Linked DNA regions of Homo sapiens: region 2 is linked to region 1. The links are contacts of gene promoters, found by promoter capture Hi-C in blood cells and fetal thymus (Javierre and others, 2016). All regions are on one chromosome and are shown on one strand. The core of a region is centred on a gene start or on the middle of the fragment in contact, and the rest is flanking DNA. Distances in the headings are between cores, read along the strand shown. Region 1 holds the start of SLC46A3 (solute carrier family 46 member 3). Region 2 holds the start of USP12 (ubiquitin specific peptidase 12).

The links. Contacts are between HindIII fragments. The CHiCAGO score rates a contact against its expected background, and 5 or more counts as called.
Region 2: a contact is called between the fragment with the promoter of USP12 here and the fragment with the promoter of SLC46A3 in region 1, in 1 of 17 cell types (monocytes). The highest score is 6.3, in monocytes.

The regions. Positions count from the first base shown.
Region 1 is chr13:28,716,002-28,721,284 of GRCh38, reverse strand. It overlaps SLC46A3 (solute carrier family 46 member 3), which reads left to right and starts at 2,315. Exons shown (of 6, transcript NM_181785.4): 1 at 2,315-2,789; 2 at 3,263-3,475. The coding sequence starts at 3,287. It also overlaps the pseudogene CYP51A1P2. The HindIII fragment of the contact is 12,183 bases long and covers 1-4,759 here.
Region 2 is chr13:27,169,565-27,174,847 of GRCh38, reverse strand. It overlaps USP12 (ubiquitin specific peptidase 12), which reads left to right and starts at 3,037. Exons shown (of 9, transcript NM_182488.4): 1 at 3,037-3,256. The coding sequence starts at 3,209. It overlaps USP12-DT (USP12 divergent transcript), which reads right to left and starts at 2,589. Exons shown (of 2, transcript NR_046548.1): 1 at 2,476-2,589. RefSeq lists enhancers at 2,261-2,450, 3,951-4,060 and silencers at 2,511-3,150, 3,291-3,340, 3,401-3,490, 3,561-3,630, 3,661-3,710. The HindIII fragment of the contact is 5,306 bases long and covers 1,981-5,283 here.

The sequences.
Region 1 (5,283 bases), core at 1,066-3,565:
GGCATGAGCCACATGCCTGGCCCTCCCTGCTTCCTCTCTAGAATCCAATTAGGGATGTTTGTTACTACTTATGTTGATTAAAACAGTTAACAAACTTTTTTTCTTTTTAAAATGTGAGATCAGTGAACTCTGGTTTTAATATAATCTGAAACAAGGTCCTTGGGAGTAATATAATTGGTCACATTCTGTAAAGCACATTCTGTTTAGGAATCACTTATCTCAAATTATAACTCAGGGCCTAACTATATGAGATGGCTGAAAAAATACCACATTGTCTGTTTTCACTAGATGATGCCAAAATATTTTGCTTTACGTATATTACAGTTCTTTTTAAAACACTGGAAGACTCATGTTAAACTCTAATTGTGAAGGCAGAAACTCTGCTAATTTTTCACATTAAAATTCTCTTTGAAAAAATACAAAAAAAAAATGACTGTTGTCACCATAGCGATCAGCAGCAGAACTCATTAAGAAGACCTGGCTTTCTTCTTCGTGTGGAAGAGTAGGAATGCAAAGCGTGGAAGTATATTGGACATTAATTATTTTTGCCCCATAAGAAAGGACATTTTCAGCAGGGCACGGTGGCGCATGCCTGTAATCCCAGCACTTTGGGAGGCTGAGGTGGGCAGGTCCCCTGAGGTCAGGAGTTCAAGATCATCCTGGTCAACATGGTGAAACCCTGTCTCTACTAAAAATACAAAAATTAGCCGGCCATGGTGGCGCACACTTGTAACCCCAGCTACTCAGGAGGCTGAGGCAGGATCATTGCTTGAATCCGGGAGGCGGAGGTTGCAGTGAGCCAAGATCCTGCAACTGCACTCCGGCCTGGGTGACAGAGCGAGACTCCACCTCAAAAAAAAAAAAAAAAAAAAAGGACATCTTCTAAGTGCCGTTTAGAATAATATAGTACTTAGTACAAAGTACTGCAACTTAAAATATTATGTCTTCCTTGCAAACTGTATCTTACTCATGTTTGTTTATCTTCTTTCCAATATCCATGCTCCATTGTTTGAAACTCATAACAAGTGCTTCATAAATGCTGATTTGAAGAAGCTGGGAAGTAAGATTAAGTGGCAAGTCCAAGGTTACCAGCTACTAAGTATCAGTTAGGACTCAAACCTAAGACGTTTAACTCTGCATTCAGTGACACAACTGTCATTTAAGGAGTGCTGAGGAAGAGAAAGCAGCTCTGACATCCAGGTGCTGGAACTATCAGCTGGGCCTTGGTGTTGCTAAGAACTTTTCTGGACCATGGTGTTCTGTCGAATGAAAACAATTTCACGGAACACCAAAGTCAGACAAGAGCATTCTGTAACCATGATCAAGACAAAAACAAGACCACGTCATAATTTTGTCTGAACACGGACAAAATTTAGGCACTGTCTAAACCACAAAAATGACAAATATGTGTGACTGTTGCTTCTTTATCATTCATGGCTTTAGCCTCTGTCTAGTCTTGACTCCTAAATAAGACTTATTAAGATACCCAATCATAGAATTACTGCCATTTCCTGACAGCAACCAATCCAGAGTAAGGCCTTGCTTTCTTGAACTCTTCCCAAAATCACATAACGCAAGCCCATAGTAAATTCTAACACCTTCTTACTGAGATGCCCCCACGGTTCCTCATGCATGCATTTCTCCTGGCTTCAAGAAGTAGTAGCTCAATTCTTTTACTACAAGTTGTTCCTGGTGGGTGTGTTGGAGAGCACTGACAACTCCTCCTATGTCCAGGGGCTGTGTTGTGTATACATGCTGAGTGTTTAATTAGACAACCCTGTAAGACTTATCATCCCCACGTGGCAGATAAAGACATGGAGGTTCATGAAAATTTAACGATTTGCCCAAGTCCCCCCTCCCCTCCCCAGGAAAAGCCAGCGACCACATTCCAACCCTCCGCTAACTCTGCATTGAGCACTCTCTTTCCTATGCCCTCCACCTGCGCCCATTCCCCTCTTCTGCGGGCCGACCGGGATCCTGCTGGGGGCTACAGCCCAAACATGTTACTTTTCCAACTGTTGTTTTATGTGTTTCTATGAGAAAGGATATTCGGATTCAGAAATGCTTTGCAACTCCAGAGCTGTTGAGCCTGCGGCGCGGCCCACCACTCAACAGCGGTGCTGAGTGGCTGCTCGGTCGCGCGGGATCCACTCCGGGCCTCCGAGGGTGGGTGCACGATCCACTAGCCACTCTCCAGGGGAGAGTGACGTCCGGGTGGACCAATCGCCGCTGGGGCACCGACCGCTGGGCCCAATCGCAGGAGAGCCGGGTAGAACAGTGACAGCGCCGCGGCAGCCGACCCCGCCTCCTCGGCGGACAGCGATGCTCAGCTGGCTGCGGCCGAGTCATCGCCTAGCGCTGGCAGGGCCGCTGACCGACCGACGGAGGCGCCGATTGGCCGATTGTCCACTGCGCAGAAGGAGCAGCTGCTCCGCGCCCCGCCGCGCCGCGCTGAGGCCGAGGTCCGCAGGGCCGCGGGGAAGCCGAGGGCTGCCGGAGAACCCTGCAGGTGTCACTCGGGACGCGGAAGTGCGCTTGCCGAGGTTTGCTTTACAATACGCTTGAGACTCCCCGACAAGCGTAATTTGGTCGAGTTCGACGGGAAAGTACTCTCCCCACCCCAGCGCCGGCCGCGTAGTCCGAGGTTACTGTCCCCGGCGCGTCCTCTGTTGCCCCAGTCCAGAGGCTGCCCTTGAACCCGGGCGCGCACGAGCGCAGGGCATCCGAGGCGACAGCCCCTGGCACGGCCCGACCTGTACCCAGCCTGGCAGGAAGACTGTAATCGTGGGGTGAGTTAAAAATAAGGCCCTTTCGATTGGGAGCTGCTTTTTAAAACGCCCCCTCCCTGTCCGTTTTTAATACGCAGCAAAATAACAATAACAATTGTGCAACTGTCGCTTCCCAAAAGGAACCTCATTGTTGAACTTACGAAAAATCAGTTGGCAATATACAGTGTGGGAACTGTACTGTGATCATTGGCTAACCAAGATGGGTGACAGTTTATGATTTCAAAGACTCAAAGGCGGCTTGAGTCCTACAATGTCCTACTCATAAAAATGGAAAGCATGGCAGCCTCAGGTTGTTACAGAGTACTCTACTCCAAAGTAAAAGTTATTCTCTGAGAAAGTGCTTACTGCCTTTTCTGTTCTCTAGTTTGCTTGTTTAAACATTTACTCCACAAAATTGCTCAAACTTACCCATCTTTGAATATCTAGCCTCTGGGATGAGACAGATGATCTTTCTCCGTTTTCACTTTTTATAGAATACAGCTACCTACCCAGGCAATATGAAGATTTTATTTGTAGAACCTGCCATTTTCCTTAGTGCATTTGCTATGACTTTGACCGGTCCACTGACAACGCAATATGTTTATCGGAGAATATGGGAAGAAACTGGCAACTACACTTTTTCATCTGATAGCAATATTTCTGAGTGTGAAAAAAACAAAAGCAGCCCAATTTTTGCATTCCAGGAGGTAAGAAATTACAATATCCATAGTATTTAATAAAATGGGAATGTATACCGGGCTTTGAGTTAAAGAGGACCGTGAACTCATCATCCATTGGTCTCTCTAGGGCGGCCATCAAAGTCCTAAATCCCAAACCTAATGGCCTTTACTGGGAACTCACCTCATTTGAAGTTTCCTGACACCTTTCAAATCTGCCTCTTCTTCTTAAAACACCCTCCTGCTCTGTGACACTAGCTCTTCTCCTTTCTCTCGGAAAATTTCACCACAGTGTCATCTCTTCTGTGGCTGTCTCCTTGCTTTGTCCTAAAAAAAAAAAAAAAAAAAAAAAAAGTCTGAAAATTGGGGCAGGGCAGGCTGGAATGAGCTACTTGGTGGACAGGGGTGGCTGAAACATGGTGTTTCTGTCTCTCACTTGCTCTATTCTTCCCCAATCCTTTTACTGTTTCTGCATGTCCCAGCTTTCAGGGACTCTAGAAAGTGGCCCATCACTGAAGATTGTGAGCCAGTGTCTGTCACAGGGTGGGGTGGAGGAGCATTTATTATTTGGTGGTGGTATCAAATCAGCCTTGGCTCTCACGTGTTGAGGAGCAGCTGTGTGGGGACATCTGGAGTGGGGAGTACCCACCGTTGACACCAAAGATGTTTAGCCAGATATTAAGGAGGCTTTCTTCCTCCCTCTCCAGCAATCTCCCCAGTTTTTTTGTGTGTAAAACAGGAGGCAGGCACTTCACCATTCTCCTGGTCCCTTGGGCAGTTTTTGACAAAAGTCTACCATTTCAAAATGCAAAGAGATAGTATCCAGGTTTGGAAATTTTTTTTTTTTTCCTACAATGCCTCAAAAACAAATCACACCTGTAAACTCTAAACTCTTCTTCTGGGGGATATTTTGTGATTGTAAAGGAGTGGTGCTGCCTTCCCAGTGAAAGATGAAATGAATTAAAAGGAATTGAGTCACCTCCTGCTGGCTCTGTGAGTCTCTGTGACTGGGAGAAGAGCCTGAGAAGGAGGAAATGGCAAACCGCCCCAGAGGCAAGGTTCTAGCACTTCCCGAGGTGTCAGGTGGAACCTTGCTGGGGTGAGGTTAGGCAATTTGGCACAATCCCTAATCTTACTCATTTCCTCATTCCCATGGGAAACGTTTTCTTGGGAGTGATTATTTCTGAGCAGCCTGGAAGACATCAAGGTTCTGGCGTAGAGTAAGGTCATAAAAAAAAAGGGCCCTGAGTCTCACCCAGCGGTCTTATCTCCCTTCAAGAATGTCTCCTAGGTCATTCCCGGGAGTGAGAAGCTTCGATCGGCTCACAGTTTCTTTTTGTAAGTGTTTATTCATGCATTAAACAAATGTTTATCACACATTATCCTGTGGTGACAAGGATAAGCAAAACGGCTCTGAACCCGAGAAGCCCAGAGTCTCTCTAGGTTGAGAAAAACACACATAAACAGAATAGAGTTTAACAAATCCTCTTAGTTTCAAAGTTGGGGTCCTACAGCAGGGATGCTCTTCAGATTTCGGCTCTGGAGACGTTTGTTAATATACATACTTGAATCCCATCCTGGAACCTCTAACACAGTGTTTTTTAACCTTGACTGGACATGGGAATCACCTGAAGTGTTTTTTATTTTATTTTGTTTATTATGTATTTATGCATGTATGGTACTTTTTGAGACAGGGTCTCATTCTGCTGCCCACGCTGGAGTGGAGTGGCGTGGTAATAGCTCGCTGCAACTTTGAACTCCTAGGCTCAAGGGATCCTCTCACCTCAGCCTCCTGAGTAGCTGGGACTACAGGCACGTGCCACTACACTCAGCTAATT
Region 2 (5,283 bases), core at 1,788-4,287, 1.5 Mb after region 1:
AAGGAGTCAGTTGTACACAAACTCATCTTTTGCTAGGCACAGGGAAGCTCTTTGTAAAGCTGATTACACAGCTGTGTAAAGCTGTGTTCTAAAGCCAGATTACCCTTTCCAAGCTCAGGGTGCAAAAGTGTGGAGTTTCAGCCAAACTTATTCTCCAACTGCATTACATATGGTAAAGAACACTCAGTACAACACCTAGCACATAGATTCAAGAATGTCTCTTTTATGTTTGTGTCTCTCCAATCGACCATAGGCTGTGGAGACAAGGCATTGTGAGGCTCTGTGATTAGGTTTCATGACTTTACCTGTGAATTTAGATGGCTCCAACATCAACTAGACATGACTCCAGATAATTCTATCAGAAATCCATTTTACTTTTTAAAATTTAATTTAATTTAATTTTTGAGACGGAATCTTACTCTGTCGCCCAAGCTGGAGTGCAGTAGCATGATCTCGGCTCACTGGTTTTTCCCAGGTTCATGCGACTCTCCTGCCTCAGCCTCCCTAGTAGCTTGGATTACAGGTGCTCGCCACCATGCCCAACTAATTTTTGTAGTTTTAGTAGAGATGGGCTTTCTCCATGTTGGCCAGGTTGGTCTCAAACTCCTGACCTCAAGTGATCCGCCCGCCTTGGCCTCCCAAAGTGCTGGGATTACAACAGGCGAGAGCCACTGTGCTGTATTTTTGAGATACTGTTTCAGTCTGTCGCTCAGGCTACAGTGCAGTGGTTCAATCATGGCTCACTGCAACCTGGATATCTCGGGCTTAAGTTATCCTCTTACTTCGCCTCACAAGTAGCTGGGACTATAGGTATGCGCCACCATGCACCACGTATTTATTTTTATTTTTAGTAGAGACAAGGTCTCACTATGTTGCCCAGGCTGGTCTTGAACTCCCTGGTCTCAAGGAAGTTGGAAGCCATCCTCCTGCCTCAGCCTCCCAAAGTGCTGGGATTACAGGCCTGATCCACTGTGCCCAGCCTAGAAATTTATTTATTTATTTATTTTTGAGAGAGTCTCACTCTGTCACCCAGGCTGGGGTGCAATGGCACAATCCCAGTTCACTGCAATCTCCACCTCCAGGATCCAATCTATTCTTATGCCTCAGCCTCCTGAGTAGCTGGGATTACAGGCGTACACTGCTACGCCTGGCTAATTTTTGTATTTTAGTAGAGACGGGATTTCACCACGTTGGCCAGGCTGGTCTCCAACTCCTGACCTCAAGTGATCCACCTGCCTCGGCCTCCCAAAGTGCTGGAATTACAGGTGTGAGCCACCATACTCAGCCTAGAAATTCATTTTAGAAAGGCCTTGTTCTTATATAAACTTATATGTAAAGCCAGTGGCTTTTGTTCCTGTGACATGTTCGGATTAATGGACAAGGAGGCATATGGGTGGTTAGCGGGATGGAGGCAGGTCTAAAATTCTGGCACATCAGACCTGTTTGCTGGAATAGAACAGCAAGTGGGAAGGACAGGATGACCACAGCTATTTATCAGGACGGGCACACAGATGGGCATGGTGACACTCGGACAAGGCCCAGGTAGGCCCTAGAGGTCTAAGATGTAGAAACCCTTGTCCAAACAGGGGGTAGAAAAGAGCAAGAAAGAATTCAGGTGGGTGATGCTTGCAAGTATAGAGAGGAAAGCCCCTGGCTGGGGTATCAGGGCTCTTGGCTTCCATGGAGGCAGGCGCTTGGAGATCCAGTCCGGCTACCATGGGGCTTGGCTATATTCAATCTGCATTCCCCCCCCAAGCAAGCTTATAATGGAATCACTATGGAAACAGTATTCATGTACCAGAAGTCTATTTTTCACTTAAATTTTGTTTGAATGCTTTTTGTTTTTGAGTGCTTTGAACCCTTGAGGTGAGGCATTTCTGATTTTACAGCTCTGCCTGAATTCAGATCCTCAACCCCACTGAATTAGGGGAACCCAGAAAAGTACCCCATCACGAGTTCAATCAGAAAATATCACAAGCTTTCTAACATAATAATTTATGAAGTTATTCTACTCACTTGAACTACTTTCTCAAATAGGAAAAAATAAAGCTGAGCTGCCAGGCATGAAGAACAGGGTGCAAATATGAATTTTATAAAAGGAGAAAGAGGAACTACCCATGCCAGTAGCCAGCACTGCCTAAGGATTTCTCACAGGGCATTTTTCTTGCTTGCGGGCTTCCTGTCTCTGGTAATATCATCATCACTGCTGGCTTGAGATCCTCCCTATTTTGCAGCTCAATGTGCAGATATTTAGAAGCCTATTATAAATTTATCGCCAACAGGCCAACAGGTTTCGCTCCTCTCCTTCCCCCATTACTTATCTTTCTTCTTAATTCAAAGAGTTAAACATGTGTAATTTGTTCTTTGCCTCTTCATTTTTGTTTAATTATTTTGTCTTTTTCTAAGTTGTGTTTGACTCCGGTGATTCATCCAATATACGTAAAAAGAAACAAACCAAGTGCTTGGGACGCATACCCGGGTTATCTTAACTGTGCAGAGCAGGTTTCCTCCCACTCCGCCCGTAGTTACCCAGATCATCGCCTCCGTTTTCTGTTTAGGCAGCGGGGGCTCGCCGTCCCCTCGCCCGCGGTGGGTGTCGCAGCTGGTCCCCTCCAGGGTTCTCCCAGATCGCCGCCGCCACCCCCGCGCCTCCCCGCCGCACCCCTTCCTACGCGGGGGTCTCTGGGTCCCCGGCTCTAGGACCGCAGGGACGCGGGCAGGAGGTGGCGCCCGCCTTCGGTCCTGCCCTCTGCCGCGCGCGGGGTGGGGACGGACCGGAGTTCCCCGGCTCGCGCACAAGGGCCGCGGAGGGGTTGCCGAGGGGTGGGCGGGGCTGCGCCGCCTGGCCGCGCCGCTGCCTGGCAGGCCGGGCATTAGGGCCTCGGCGGAGCCCGCTCCCCTGTGCGCTGGGCGGGGTGGGCGGAGGGCGGCTTCGCGTGCAGGCGCGGGCCCGGAGGCAGCGGCTGCGCCCTGCGCCGGGGCGGAGCCGGGGGCGGGCCGGCGGCCGGCAGGCGGGGGCTGGGGCCCGAGGCCGGGAGTGCCTGAGCGCCGGCGGCGACGACGGCAGCGGCGGCCCAGCGGGCTCGGTGGTTGGGTCCGCGGCGGCTCGGGGTCCGCCCGCGGGCTGCGGTGCGAGCGGGCGGCCCGGCTCCCCTCCTCCCCCGCCCGCCGCCGCCGCTGTGATTGGGTGGAAGATGGCGCTGGCCGGATGGAAATCCTAATGACAGTCTCCAAATTCGCCTCCATCTGTACCATGGTAGGTGGCGGCGAGCGGGCGGCCGGGGCTGCCGGGACCTCTCGGGCGGGCGGGCGGCGCTGGACCCGCCTCTCCCAGTGGCCGCTCGCGGGGCCTAGCGCCGGGGCGGGCGGGCGGGCTGGGCGGCCCGGGCGGCCCGGGCGGGGGCGGTTGGACGGCGCGCAGGCGGGGAGCGCGGGGGTGAGCGGCCCAGGCGGCTGGGGAGGGGGCGCCGCCTGGTGGGCCAGGGCGGCGCGAGGGTAGCGGTGAGTGGGCGACCGTGCCAGACGCGGCGTCGGGCGGGCACCGGCCTCCGGGAGTCCCCGGCTGAACTGCTGGGGTCCGCTCGGGACGCGGGGACGAGGGCCGAGGCGCGCCCGGCCTGTGCCGGGGTGAGGGGTGGGCGCGCGCGAGCCAGAGCGCGGCCCCGGGCCGGGGTCGTCGGGGAGGGGGCGCGGAGCCGCGCGGGCTCCATTTCCTTCTGGTCGCGCGCCGAGCGGGAGGGGTCCCCGGGAGGGGTGGGGGTCGGCGGGCAGGAAGGAAGGGTCTCGGCCGGGGCGGGCAGCGCTCATTCCCGCCTGGGAGAGGACGGAAGTCAAGTGCAGATTTCCTCGCGCCGCTGGCTGGGCCGAGTCCCCGACCCCGCGCTGGGGGAAAGGGGCGTGTGTGAAGGTGGAAACTTTAAATAAGTACTGTTGAAATTCTCTCCATTTTCTCCTCTGAGAGGCACGAGCTCTCCCGTTTCCAGCCGTGTGTCCAGGTGGCAGTCTTGTCTCTGGGAATGCACGTTAATCTTGAAAAGCAGCATTAGCTTTCCTGTCATTTGTTTACTTCAGCCCACCAGACACATCTGTATGTGGCTGGAGCTAGGTCTGTCTGTGCGGGGACCGCCTGCCAAGGCGATGGTATTTGTTTTCCTAGGGCGTTTAAATAGACTGTAAGGGAAAAGTGCTAATGCCCGCTGGAAGTCCCGAATTAAGCAAAACGTGGGCGCGTTTAAAACTTGGTGTTTTGTGCGTGGCCAGAAGGACCACAGTTTTCCACATGATGAGACAAATTCGTTTCATTAGTTCCTCATGAGCTTATATGTAGGGATCATAATTTATGAGTCATCACCGAAAAAAGTTGTTCTTTGCAACGTGGGCCTAGTGGTTGTTATTAGAGACTTCTGAAATCTTGTGTTTCATGCCTCACTGGCCCTATTTATGCAACTGATTTCATATAGGAGATCCCCAAGAAATTTTCCATCTAAGGGTGGTACATTGTATATATTTTTCTTTAAGGAGTGGTGAATCAGATCTGAAAGATGCCTTAAAAAGCAGATTCTCTACTACACGCTGAGGAACAGTACAAAAAATGACTGAAATCAGGTGGACATAAAATCGACAGTATTAAAGAAATCATATTGAAGGATGAATCATTGAAGACTCCATTTCCCAACTGGATGATTGTTCTTTCTCACAGTTTACATTTTAGGAAAGCATTTGTATTAAATGGACTATATTAAAATGATTTTGGAGAATTGTTTGGGCTAATTATTTTTAGATACGCCAATTATTATCTTAGTCAATTTCAAAAGGAATGCGATAATTAGGTCTTTTACAGTGACAATTTTGCCACATGGCTGAGCTACACACATTGTATGGGTCATAGTTCATTGTCAAAGACTAGATTTCAGGAGTGGTGTGATACTCTTTACCGACTGTTCATTCACTCAAGTACTGTATATCAAGTATACACTTAGCAGCCACTAAGTGCTAGAGGCGACGCTGAGTACTGGGGATGCAGTATTGGTCAGGGCAGCCCCTGTTTTCTTGGTGTTTACATTCTTGCTCATGGACACAAACAGTATTCAGGTAAACAATAAATGTATGCTGTAATCAGATTAGGACAGTGAGACACAGGGATTTGCCAGGGTCACACACTTAGTAAGTGGGATTCTGATCCCAAGGATGTCAAATCAGAAGCTCTTTCTAGGGCTTCCATCCAGATACATTAATTACATGTGGGGCGTGTGTATTGTTGGCAAATACAGAAAATGCCTGGCC